Regions from separate parts of the Homo sapiens genome. Here regions 1, 2 and 3 are each linked to region 4. Evidence: promoter capture Hi-C in 16 types of primary human blood cells and fetal thymus (Javierre and others, 2016). All regions are on one chromosome and are shown on one strand. Each heading gives the region's core, a stretch centred on a gene start or on the middle of the fragment in contact. The rest is flanking DNA. Distances are from core to core; before and after follow the strand shown. Region 1 overlaps UCK2 (uridine-cytidine kinase 2). Region 2 overlaps UCK2 (uridine-cytidine kinase 2). Region 3 has its middle 16 kb from the start of MIR3658. Region 4 holds the start of RXRG (retinoid X receptor gamma).

What was found. Contacts are between HindIII fragments. The CHiCAGO score rates a contact against its expected background, and 5 or more counts as called.
Region 1: a fragment that was not itself captured here is called in contact with the fragment with the promoter of RXRG in region 4 in 5 of 17 cell types (non-activated CD4 T cells, naive CD4 T cells, total CD8 T cells and 2 more); the score reaches 7.5 in non-activated CD4 T cells.
Region 2: a contact is called between a fragment that was not itself captured here and the fragment with the promoter of RXRG in region 4, in 4 of 17 cell types (naive CD4 T cells, activated CD4 T cells, total CD4 T cells and 1 more). The highest score is 6.5, in naive CD4 T cells.
Region 3: a fragment that was not itself captured here is called in contact with the fragment with the promoter of RXRG in region 4 in 7 of 17 cell types (naive CD4 T cells, activated CD4 T cells, naive CD8 T cells and 4 more); the score reaches 10.3 in naive CD4 T cells.

Annotation. Positions count from the first base shown.
Region 1 is chr1:165,874,907-165,878,130 of GRCh38, forward strand. All of the region lies in intron 1 of UCK2 (uridine-cytidine kinase 2), which reads left to right. Among named protein-coding and RNA genes, the nearest start is that of MIR3658, 31 kb to the right of the region's middle. The HindIII fragment of the contact is 2,649 bases long and covers 149-2,797 here.
Region 2 is chr1:165,893,943-165,896,824 of GRCh38, forward strand. It overlaps UCK2 (uridine-cytidine kinase 2), which reads left to right. Exons shown (of 7, transcript NM_012474.5): 4 at 2,248-2,390. Among named protein-coding and RNA genes, the nearest start is that of MIR3658, 13 kb to the right of the region's middle. The HindIII fragment of the contact is 1,691 bases long and covers 655-2,345 here.
Region 3 is chr1:165,922,787-165,925,722 of GRCh38, forward strand. No RefSeq gene overlaps it. Among named protein-coding and RNA genes, the nearest start is that of MIR3658, 16 kb to the left of the region's middle. The HindIII fragment of the contact is 2,669 bases long and covers 9-2,677 here.
Region 4 is chr1:165,443,351-165,446,627 of GRCh38, forward strand. RXRG (retinoid X receptor gamma) reads right to left here and starts at 1,776. Exons shown (of 10, transcript NM_006917.5): 1 at 1,495-1,776. The coding sequence starts at 1,543. The HindIII fragment of the contact is 7,493 bases long and covers 740-3,277 here.

The DNA of each region.
Region 1 (3,224 bases), core at 223-2,722, 430 kb after region 4:
TGAACACTAGTGTGTTGTTTTCATTGTGTAGTGTGGTTTAATAGTATGATAATGTAGTTTTGTGCCGTTTTATAGACGTGAAGAAAATAAAACTAATGGGCATGAATTGATGAAGTTTTCAACTGAGTTACCAAAAAAAAAAAAAAAAAGCTTCCTAATGGACTTTCCTGGAAAGATTTGTCTAAATGAAAATTTGGTGGATCTTAAAGAAGAGAATAATTTTTATTGAACATATAGTTTGTGCTAGCCACTATCTTAGGCATGTAGCTTATTAACACTTATGGCCCATTTGTGGAACAGGTATGGTTACCTGCAGTTTAAAACAAGGATGCCAGTGTTCTAAGAGGTTGAGTTGCCCGAGATATCACTGGTATGTTAGAGTCAGGAATCAAGCCAGGTCCTGTGTGCCCTGCCCAGCCTGACTTTAAAGGACTATGTAGGGAAACTCTCTGAAACCACATTTTTCCTTTACTCTCACACCACAACAGTTAACACGGAAGACTTCTGTGACCGATTGTGGTGAGAGAGGGGGGATTTCCTCACACAGCAAGGCACAGACACCAGTTGAGTGTCCTCCAATTTACTTGCTACACTATTTACCTGGAGATAGTGTCAAATCCCACAGGTTGGAAACTCAAGTCTCTAAAACTGCCCCTGCCCCCTGCAGACATGCAAACCTGAGCCTCTGGAACTTCTGATTGATTGACTTCAAGTCGAGGTTCCCATAACCCCCTCTTAGGGTTTGATTAATTTGCTGGAGTGGCTCACAGAACTCAGGGAAACACTTATGTTTACTGGTTTATTATAAAGGATATTTTGCAAAGGACACAGATGAAGAGACGCACAGGGCAAGGCATGGGGAAAGAGGTGCGGAGTTTCCAACCCCTCCCTTGTGTGCCACCCTCCAGGAACCTCCAGGTGTTCAGCTATCCGGAAACTCCCTGTACCCAGCTTTCTTGGGTTTTTTGGAAACGTTCCTTCCTACAGTGCTTAGCCCTCTCAGGGGAGGGTTTGAGACCCACAATCTGAAAGGTGGGGAAAGATTAGATTCCTGCCTCGGGCCAGGTGAAAGGAAGGCAGGAAAGAGATTCTGTTTCCTGACCCAACATTATCACAAAAGACTGTAACAAGGGCTGTGGGAGTTATGGACCAGGAACCTGGTTGAAAACCATTATAAATCATAACACCACAAGGACCTATATTTTGCTTTTTAGGACATTGTAGTAGGTGGGTAGTTTTCATCCTCTTGCTTTTTAAAATCTATCTTGCCCAGAAGTTTATTGGGCATTTCTATGGAAACACAACACCTCTCTTAAATGGCAGTTTCACACATCTGCAGCCTAGTAATTGCTACTCATTTTGAAGACCCTGAAGCACACCACTGGATCTGGAAGTGACATCTTCGTCACCAAGGAAACAGTAGATTAAGTCCTGTGCTCAGTATAGTTTTACTTCTGAGTATTTAGTAAGTATGATAAATTATTAACCAGGATATTTGATTAGGTAGACATGCCTATATTCCAGATAGCAACAGTTTACCATTAGAGCAAACAGAAAACACCAGGAAAAATTCTGCAGGACAAGTTTGTAAAATGCAATGATACATCTTTATGACATATATCCTCTGTAAGGAGATAAAAACAATGTATGTACAGGAGTGTACATAAATAAAAGTTGAAGAAAGTACATCCTCTGTGATTTAAAAAAAGAAATTCAATATACCCATTAAAAAAGTGACAGGTGTATTAGTTTTCTATGGCTATAGTAACAAATTACTACAATCTTGATGACTTAAAATGACAGATTCATTCTCTTATAGTGCTGGAGGCTGTAAGACTGAAATTTAGGTGTGGGCAGTGTTGGCCTCTTCTGGAAGATCTGAAGGAGACCCATGCCTCCGTCCTGTCTCCCAGCTTCTGCTGCCATTTCTTGTATCACCCCAGTCTCTACTTTCACCTTTATATGGCTTTCCCTCATGTCTCCGTGTCTTCACCTTTTCTGTTTCTTAGAAGGACACATGTCATGGGGTTTAGGGCCCACCCTAATTCAGGATGATCTCATCTCAAGATATTTAACTTAATTACATGTGCAAAGACCTTTTTTCCAAATAAGGTCATATTTTGAGGTTGGGGGAGTTAGAATATGATCGTAGATTTTGGGGGGCAACAATGTAACTCACTTATAAATGGTCCACTGACCCCCCCAAAATTTGTCCTGTGTGCAGAATGCATTCATCTCATCCCAATTAATTATTAACACTGCTTTGTGAGGAAAAATTAAGAATTTTGAAAAGTGAGAAGCTATACCTCTGGGATAAATAAAAAGACAAATGGCAGAAGATGGATAGTCGCTAATCTTTTTTTTAGATAAACATTTTGTTTTGAGATAGTTGTAGGTTCACAAACACATAAGAAATAATACAGAGAGATCCCATATTACAAAAGACACCGGGATGTTGACGTTGATACAGTGAAGATACAGAACACTTCCATCGCTACTGCTGTTTTGCTGTTTATTACCTGCCCCGGATTTCCCGCCCCTCCACTGCTCCCTGTCCCTAACCGTGGTCCACCACTAATCGTTCCACAATTTTATACAAATATAACCATACTGTATGTAACCTTTTGGAATTGCCCTTTTTTACTCAGCACAATTCTCTGGAGATTCGTGCAGGTTGTTGTATCAGCAGTCATTCGTTTTTATTGCTGAGTAATAGTCCATTGTATGGATATACCGTAGTTTAACCATCGGCGTAATGAAGGCCATCTGGGTGGCTTCTAATTTTTGGCTCTAACAAAGCTTCTATGAACATTTGTGTATGTATTTTTGTGTGACTATGTTTTCATTTCTGTGGGATCAGTACAATTGCCTGATCATATGGTAGTTTAGTTGCATGTTTATTATCTTCTTTAATATGCTTTTTTTAAAGAGCAGTTTTAGGTTCCTAGCAAAATTGAGGAAAAGATAGAGATTTCTCTGATTCCCCTTGGCCCAACACATGCACAACCTCCCCTATTATCAACACCCCCCATCAGAGAGGTACGTTGGTCACAGTCATGAACCTACATTGTCACATCCTTATCAACAAGTTAATAGTTGACATTAGGGTTCACTTTTGCTGTTGTACATTGAGTGGGTTTGGACAAATGTATGATAACATGTTATCCACCATTATAGCATCATACAGAATAGTTTCACTTCCCTAAAAAATCCCCTGTGCTCTG
Region 2 (2,882 bases), core at 250-2,749, 450 kb after region 4:
AGTACAGATTGAACATCCCTAATCTAAAAACCCAAAATGTGAAATGCTCCAAAATCTGAAACTTTTTGAGTGCCAGTGTGACGTTCAAAGGAAATGCTCATTGGAGCATTTCAGATTTTGGATTTTCATGTTAGGGAGGCTCATTGTAGATCCTCTCTCCCCCTGCCATATTAGGGATGCCCTAAATATAATGCAGATATTCCAAAATCTGAAAAAAATCCAAAATTCAAAAATTCTAAACACCTAAGCATTTCATATAAGGGATACTTAACCTGGATATGTAAACTTAGTGCAGCCATTGTGTTCTCTGTTAGTGTGTTCAAGTGGACTCTTGCACATACATTCACTTTATTTTTGGACAAAGCCTTCCCACACTCTCCTTGGTGTAGGGGAGTTGCCTAGAGAGTGGCTCACTATTTCACTTACCCATTGGTTCTGTTTTCTGAACTTCTCTAGGTTGCCTTCTTATGCACAATGACAATGGGCACACCATTTTCTGGCAGCTGACATTCCTCTAGACTGGTGCTTCTCTACCCTGGCTGCATGTTAGAAATATCTTGGGAGCTTCTAAATAGTGTTGAAGTTCTAGCTCCACTTCAGACTCATTAAATCAGAGCTCCTTGGGGGTAGGATCCAGGTAGGGATATTTTTATAAGCTTCCCAGATGGTTCTGATATGCATCTCAGATACACCACAATTCTAGGGCATTTCCTAATCCTAGTCCTTTTTTCCCGTCTTCCCTGCCCCGTTCTGCCACTTGCTAGCTACCCTAGCAGTGCCTGCCTTAAAACTCAGACACAAGCCTGTTGGTCCAAGCTGAGAAGGCATCAGGAAGTGTTTATGGGAAGGAGTTCCAACGGCACCCTCTTGAGCTGGCCGTTGATACTGACCTCCTTATGTTTGCACAGATGGAACTACTGTTTTAAGAGACTTTGTTTTATTTGGTTTGCCAGTGTGCTAGTCAGGGTGAGTGGAAACCTTGCAATGATGATTATTTCTCTATTTTCAGTGAATTTTGAGCAAGAGGCAGTTGGTGACATATAAGGTGGGCATAGGACAGAATCAAAAGACAAAACACAGTGAAAGCTGCAGCAAGGCAAAGCTGAGCACAAGCAAGGCCATCTGTGACAGCCCGTCGCCTAACCGTTTAGCAATGTTTCACCCTTCTTGCTTTTTGAAAAGTCATGTTGGTTGAGCTTGGTAGCTCATGCCTGTAATCCTAGCACTTTGGGAGGCTGAGGTGGGTGGGTTGCATGAGTCCAGGAGTTATAGACCAGCCTGGGCAATATGGTAAAACCCCGTTTCTACCAAAAATACAAAAATTAGCCTGGGGTGGTGGTGTGCATCTGTAGTCCTAGACACTTAGGGGGCTGAGGCGGGAGGATCGCCTGAGCCTGGGAAGTTGAGGCTGCAGTGAGTCCAAGATTGCGCCGCTGCACTCCAGCCTCCTGGGTGACAAAGTGAGACCCTGTCTCCAAAAACAAGAAAAAGAAAGAAAAGTCATGTTTACAATTAGTGCCTGCCCTAGGCTACCCAACCATGTGGGTTGGGTGGATGAGGTCATGCATATTTCTGCTTTATTGATAAGGAAGAGCAGCTCTAGGGAGCTCAGGATTGACCTGTGGCCACTTTGTTGGTTTGGGGTAGAGCCAGACCAGACAGACGTCGGGATTCTGTACTTCCTCACAAATGCTTTCTCGTCTGTATCCTCTTTCCCAAAACTTTTCTTTATTTTCCCTCCTTCCCTTCCCCTTCTGTCCTTTCCTCCCTCCTTTCAATTGCCTCAGGACTGGCGGGGAGGGGATGGAGTTGTTGAGAGAAAACTGTGAGTTTCTGTTTTTAAAGTTCAGAGTGTTAGGTTCCATAAATGCCAGGCCATGAGAGCATTCCTGGAGACGCCTTCAGAGAAAAAAAGAAATCACATCTGTTTTTGTCTGCCTTTATTCTTCATTCAACAGCAGGTTTTTTTAATTCCAAGGAGAAGGATGTCTGCCGTGTATTTCTGTTTCATGGTGAAAGCTCAGAAGTGGTCAAAGGAGACCTTTGTCCCGGCCGTGATCACCCTTGGCTCTTTGGTGGTGGTCCGAGGGCTCTGTAAGACCATATTAGCCAAGTCTTTAGCCCCCGCTTGAAGTCTGTGGGGGCAAGGAACCCAGAACCCAGCCCAGCCAGATGTTCTGGCCCTTGTTCTCTGTCCCTTGCTAGCCCCTGCCTGGCTTGGCCCATTATCTGCTCTGTGCTTTGCAGGAAGGAGGAGACAGTTACTGTCTATCCCGCAGACGTGGTGCTCTTTGAAGGGATCCTGGCCTTCTACTCCCAGGAGGTACGAGACCTGTTCCAGATGAAGCTTTTTGTGGATACAGATGCGGACACCCGGCTCTCACGCAGAGGTGCGTTCTAAAAGCCTCAGGTGGCCCTGTTGGTGGCCACCTTGAGGGCGGGGGAGCTGGGAGCCTGTGACAGGACCCCACCCGCCTGAGTCTGAAGCCCATGCCTTCCCTGAGGCAGCTGTGTGTCGCATGGTCCAGCCCGGCTGCGTCAGTCCAGCCCCAGGATATCCTGCTGCCCAGACACTTGGTAACATTTGAGAAGGGATTAGTCACTTACTGTTTGGGATAACGAAAGGCTTGTGAGGTCACAGAGACTAAATAAGACACTGACATCTGGTTTTGCCTGGAAAAGTTTGATTAAATGCTTAGTTCCTTGCAATTTGTTTATAAGACATCAAAATGAAGATGCTCTGATTTGGGGAACTAACTGTAGGACCCCCGAGGATAGGATCCCCTGTGCCTGAAGTACTGGGCAGCTCATCCTGTTAGCCTGCTTCTCTAGCCCTTTATTTTCCAGCAGGCTTTATGGAGGCATTATCACTCTTTCCAGTC
Region 3 (2,936 bases), core at 93-2,592, 480 kb after region 4:
GCTTTGAAAGCTTAAACTCTGACCACTCTGTCTATCTTACATGTTATTGATGTTAAGTATTATAGTTCCACCTTGCTTTTATATTCTTGACATTAGTTACGATTACTGTTTTATCCTGTCAGTGCTCATTTAGATTTTCCCAGATTATTACTAATGACTTTGTTCACTATTTTATTTTGCATTGTCAATCTTGGTTATGGATTCAGTTTTCTTCATAACACACATTTTTTTCATAATTATTTGTCAGAATTATTAGTGGGACACTCTTTGTTGGAAAATGCCTTTTTTTACCCTCATTCTTGAGTTATAATTTAGCTGTTTCTCTCAACATTTTGGATAGATTGGTCTTCTGTTTTCTGTCTTTTAAAAAGATTTCTCTTTGATGTTTTGCAATTTCTTATGATGTGTTGAAATGTGGATTTATTTTTATTTACCCTACTTAGGGCATGTGCTTCCTGAAGGCGAGTTCTATGTGTTTCATCTATTCTAGAAAATTTATAGCTATTATCTTTTCTAATGTTGCCTTCTCACTTTTCTCTCTGTTTTCTATCTTTTGATCTGTGGTTCCATGTACATAGGACCTTTTGCTCTTTCTTCTAAGTCTCTTACTCTCTTATTTTATTTTTAATCTGTTTTTTGTTTGTTTGTTTGTTTGAGACAGGGTCTCACTCTATAGCCCAGGCTGAAATGCAGTAGAGTGATCATGGCTTGCTGCAGCCTCAACCTCCTGGGCTCAAGTGATCCTCCCACCTCAGCCTCCTAAGTAGCTGGGACCACAGGCGTGAGCCGCCATGACCGGTTAATTTTTGTATTTTTTGTAGAGATGGGGTTTCACTATGTTGCCCAGGCTGGTCTCGAACTCCTGGACTCAAGCGATTTACCCATCTTGTCCTCCCAAAGTGATGGGATTATTGATATGTACCACTGTGCCCTGCCTTATTTTTAATCTTTTTATCTCTCAAGCTACATTGTAGCTAAGCTCCTTAGATCATTTCCAATTTAGTTACTCGCTCTTCACCCATGTTTAGTTTGCTGTTTAAAACTTACCAAGTTTTTAATTTCAGTGACCATATTTTTGGCTTTTAGAAAAACCATTTCATTATAGTCCAAATCTGCTTGTTGATTTTTGATTGTGTTTTATACTAATGTTTTAAATTGCTATTCTTGGCCCTTGTCTAATGTCATTTTCTTATATGCTCAGCTATGCATTAAGCAGGACTTCATTATTATTATCTTTTTTGTATTTTATGTGGAACTTGTAGGTATTTTGTAGCAGGAAGGTTTTCTGGTTATCTGAACCATGATAATGAAAAAAAAAAAAGTGTCTCATTGGTTTTTTCAAACTTTCTCCTCCAGAGAAATTCTGCTTTGTTCACAGCATCAAATGTTGCTTGGAGTTCTAAAACTTCCATTGTTCTTTGTATGTGAAGCATGCTGGGATGCCTGGGCGGTGGAGTGTTACTTCACATTAAATTGTGGGCTCCTTTACGGTCAGCAACTGTGTTTCCTGTATCTCATGTGTCCTGGCAGGGTACTTGCCACGTAGTCAGTGCCTGATAAACAGTTGGCTGATTTCCTTATTTGACTTTTGCTTTAGAGCCAGACGCCTCGCTAGCAGAGATGCACACGTTTTTTTGTTTTGTTTTTTTTTTTTTTTGAGATGCAGTCTCGCTCTGCCGCCAGGCTGGAGTGCAGTGGTGCAATCTCGGCTCGCTGCAAGCTCCGCCTCCCGGGTTCAAGCGATTCTCGTGCCTCAGCCTCCCGAGTAGCTGGGATTACAGGCGCGCACCACCACGCCCAGCTAATTTTTGTATTTTTAGTTGAGACGGGGTTTCACCATGTTCGCCAGGATGGTCTCGATCTCTTGACCTCGTGATCCACTCGCCTCGGCCTCCCAAAGTGCTGGGATTACAGGCGTGAGCCGCCGCGCCCGGCCCGAGATGCACATGTATTTTTAAAGAGTTCCATTGATAACTGAGTTTCTCCTGACCAGAAGGTGGACTGTGGCCTAGGCATGGCAGTGCCTCCTGATTGGCTTTGGAAGCTCAGCTCCATCTGTGGTCCGTTATTCTTAAAAGTGGCCACTAGAGGGTGAGAATGAGCCACAGCACAGCAAAGTCCTGTTTTAACCTTCAGAACAGCTGGAGGACGGTCAATTCAAACACACTAGAGAGCACCTATCATGTGCCAGGTACTGTGCCAAGCCCTCCCTGCCTTCCAGGACCTCATAAATGGCCAGTGGCCCCTCACATATAGACACAACTCTTGTACAAGGCAGAATGGAATGTGCACAAAGAGGTACAATCCCAACTCCTAGATCTAGGGGGTCTCAACAAGGAGGAACTGTGGGTGGCTTTCCTGTAGAACTCAGATTGGTCAGTCTGTGAGAAGGAAACTTACAGGACCTGCACCATCCACCCTCTCAGTCTCAGTCTCACCCACCTCTTCATACACCTGTTTCATGTGCATATGGCTTTACTGTTGCCTGCCAGAGACCACCCAGGCTTTGCAGTAGACTATTTGCATAACCCTGGACTAACCACTCTCTAATCTTTAATCTCTTTATTTAGGGATGATAATATCAAGTCCTTTCTACCTCATAGGATTGTGTCAGATTTAAGCAAAGTAATGAAGATCAAAGTACTTTTGAAAATTCATAAGTGCCATATATTTATGAAGCTTTAAAATAATTGTTAATATAAATTTCCCTAAAATGCCCTCAGAGTCTAGGAAGTTTGGGTGCACCATGGGCATTTACTGAATTAACTAGAATGTACACTCTTCCAGAAGAGGAGACCCACAGTAAGCCGAGGTATACCAGGCAGTTTCGGACAAATCTGAGAGCCAGGAAACAGCAGTGTCATTAAAGTGTTGGGCTGAACATTGTGCTCTGACACTCTCTGGGGAGGTGTCAGCCTGGCATCCAAGAAGGGTGG
Region 4 (3,277 bases), core at 526-3,025:
AGCTCTGAATGGGACTGAGGTGGGAATTGAGGAGGCTTTTCACATCTGGAGCCCAACCATAGACTAGAGATCAAATGCCCAGGTCACAGCATTGGCCACCGCTCTCACTCTGTCATCAGACTGGCCCAAAGAACTTGAACATCACCTCGGGAACATTTCCATGGCCCTCACCCCAAGTCCAAGTACAACCTACGTTTGCTATTACACACATCATGCAGTATTATAATGTGCCTGTGTAACAAGCCTGCCCCAGTCCCAAAGGGCAGAGACTGTGTCTCATTCATATTTGTATTCCCAGTGCCCAACACCATGCCTGCCTCATAAAAACTACCCTGAATGAATGTGCAAACTCCCAGGTCTAACACCTCCTGGTGACAGAGATCACTTCTACCTTGCAGTGTGTCACCATGCCTCCCAGGGGGTTCTGCCCAGCCAAGTTAGGCAAGCTTTAGTCCCAAGCCTTCAGATGAATTGGTCCACGGAGGAAGTCTGGAGAGCAGGGACTTTTCAATTTTCAAAACCTTATAAGAATTTCTGCTGTCTTGCCTGCCAGAATCTTTCTTTGGCTCCCAGCAACATAAGCTGCATGCCTCCAACTGACAAGCGACAGGCCAGTTGGTCAGCTGTTGCTTCCATTTACTCAGAGCTGGGCGGCTGTACTGTTTCTGTCACTAAATCAAGGGATCCTTGGGACGGATGTGCTTGGGCGTTAAGGCAGCCTGAGGACCTAGTCTCCGGAAGCTTCTGTGAAGTGTGACTGGGCTGCCCTGCCTGGCACGGTGACTTGAATCTTCAGTTTGCCAATTCTCTAAGAGCCCCAACCCCCCATCCCCAGATCTCTACCCCCAGAGTGGAAGTGATTGCAGCAACTCTTGCAGTAGAATTGGGGGCAGCAGCAGGGGAGGAGAGAAGAGGCTATTAGCAAATCAAAGGAAAGAAAACAGGGGAAGGAAAACACAGTAGCAAATTAAAGCACTATGTTTTCTTTTTAAAAATCCAATTAAAGGGAAATCTGCTTTTGAGTAAAACAATCATGCCCTTGTTACAAAGTATCCCAGGAACCCTCAAGATAGGCAAAACCTTTTTAATCACATTTTTTCTCATTACAAGTTGGCTAATAGGAACATCATAGTAATTCCCCGTTAACTCTTCCACTTTTCACACCCGCACAAACACACTGGGTTATAACAATGCTCTTATTCTATCTTTGTCTCAGACACATTCTCAAGCATGTTGGTTTACTCTCTCCTTAGAATATCCCCGTATCCTCATTCTGATATGCAAACGTATCCTCACCTACAGACCATTCTTTCCTCCTCTCCTCTCTCATGCACGCGTGCACACACACGCTGAAACGCTATATACACACTATATATGCATATAAACATATATGTTCTCCTTTTAATTCAATACTAATCCAGTCATTCGTATTTCCCAATTTCTTCTCAGTCTCTCATACAGGTCCACGCAGTGAAGCCCAAGGGAGATACTTACCTCCATAGCCTGCGGGAAACTTCATGAAGTGAGAATAATTTCCATACATGTTTACTCGTCAGTTCATGTTCCTCTCCTGTGCAGCTTCTAAATATTACCGCCTCTCTCGGCTCCCAGGCACAGCCCGGCTTTCTTCAACTTGGGCTAACAAGAGTGGTCATCGCTTCCTAGCAGCCCGGGGAGCACAGGCTGGGCCAGCCCTCTGGGATTAGTCAGGAATCTGCCTCTAGATCGGAGAGTCCACATAGTGCGTTTGAGACGGCTGTGGCGGCAGCAGCTGGTGCCTGTCAGTAATCACGCATAATGCTGCCGCCGCCGCCGCCGCCGCCGTCACCGCTACTCTTGCCACCGCCGTCGCTGCTGCTTGAGATCCTGTTGCTAGTTTGATTAACTCAGGGTTGGGCTGCTGCGTGCGACTCTTCCAGCTCCCGGCGCGTCCCCAGAGGTCCCTACCGGGTGGCACGATCTATTATCTAGGAAGCCAATCGATGTATGACCGCCCGGTGTAGGTCAGGAGAGAGGCGGGAGACGGCAGGGGATGGAAGACTCTTTAGGTGCCTGTTCCTTGACTTACATCCACAAAAATCAATGGGATTTTATTAAAATGCATTTTCTCATTCGAACTTCTATCTGTCCAATGTACTTGGTATTTGATCTGTGAAAGGAGGAGGGGGTGGGGTTCAAGAGAGAACAGGGCCCTTTCAGAAGCACAAGATTAGAAAAGCGTGATACTCAATCTCCAGCTACGGAAAACTAAAATAGAGTAGCCCTTAAGTTGAGGTGGGCCTCTCCTGCTTGGGTGGCCGGAAGCATTTATCTGTGCTCTAACAATGGGAGTTTGACAAGTGCAGCTGGAGCCAGAGCTCACTCAGGTGGAAAACTTACAGGTAGGGAGGAGGGGTTGGCTTGATGTGGAGGTCTTTCTCTGCATTTATTTTATATACCATTGTTATCCTGCCGCCTGTTCAAAAACACCACTGGGTCCTCACTAACACAGAGCCTGTCTTGTGTGGAACTGACCCGAGATCAAAGAATCTAAGCACCCCGTTGATGTTTGGGTCTGTCATACAGTTTTCGTGACAAGTCACCGCTCAGCCTATACTTGAACACCTCCAATAATGGGGAGCTCACCACTTTCTCATTCCATTTCTAGATAGTTTTCACCACAAGAAAGTTTCTTATAGAGATAAAATCTGCTCCTTTTCCCTACAGCTTCTGCCCACAGGTGCTAGACTGCTCCCAGGGGCCACACAAGAGAAGCCTGAAAGACAAAAAAGTCTTTCACAGTGGGATCCTCTGCAAATCCTGAGATTGATCTGCTGTGCCCATAATCCCCCTTTCCCTAGGCATCTCTGGCTCTTTCAGTAATTCTATGTATCACCAAGGGTTCATGTCTATTCCCAACCTATCCTTTTTCTAATAATGTACTTCAGTTTACATAGATACCCTCACAGTGAGGAAGGGGGTTGGCCAGACTTGGATGCAATACTCCAGATATGGTCCAAACCTTTTCCTCATGGTATATGTGTTGGCACGGTGATGGGGTGCTGTCAACATACCCATTGAAGGTCCGTTTCATGGGCTGAGCTCTGTTGGGCTGGAAAAAAGATAAGAGATTTTCTCCTGATGCAGCATAAGACATAGAGAGCCAGAGAGGTAAGTCAAATCAGGGTCCCAGAGTAAAAAATCAAGATTCAAATGCTAGGAGAAGCCAAAACAAAAACGTAGAATAAAAGACCAGAGTCAGGAACAAAGTCATGATGACAAAGGAGGAGGCCAAAAT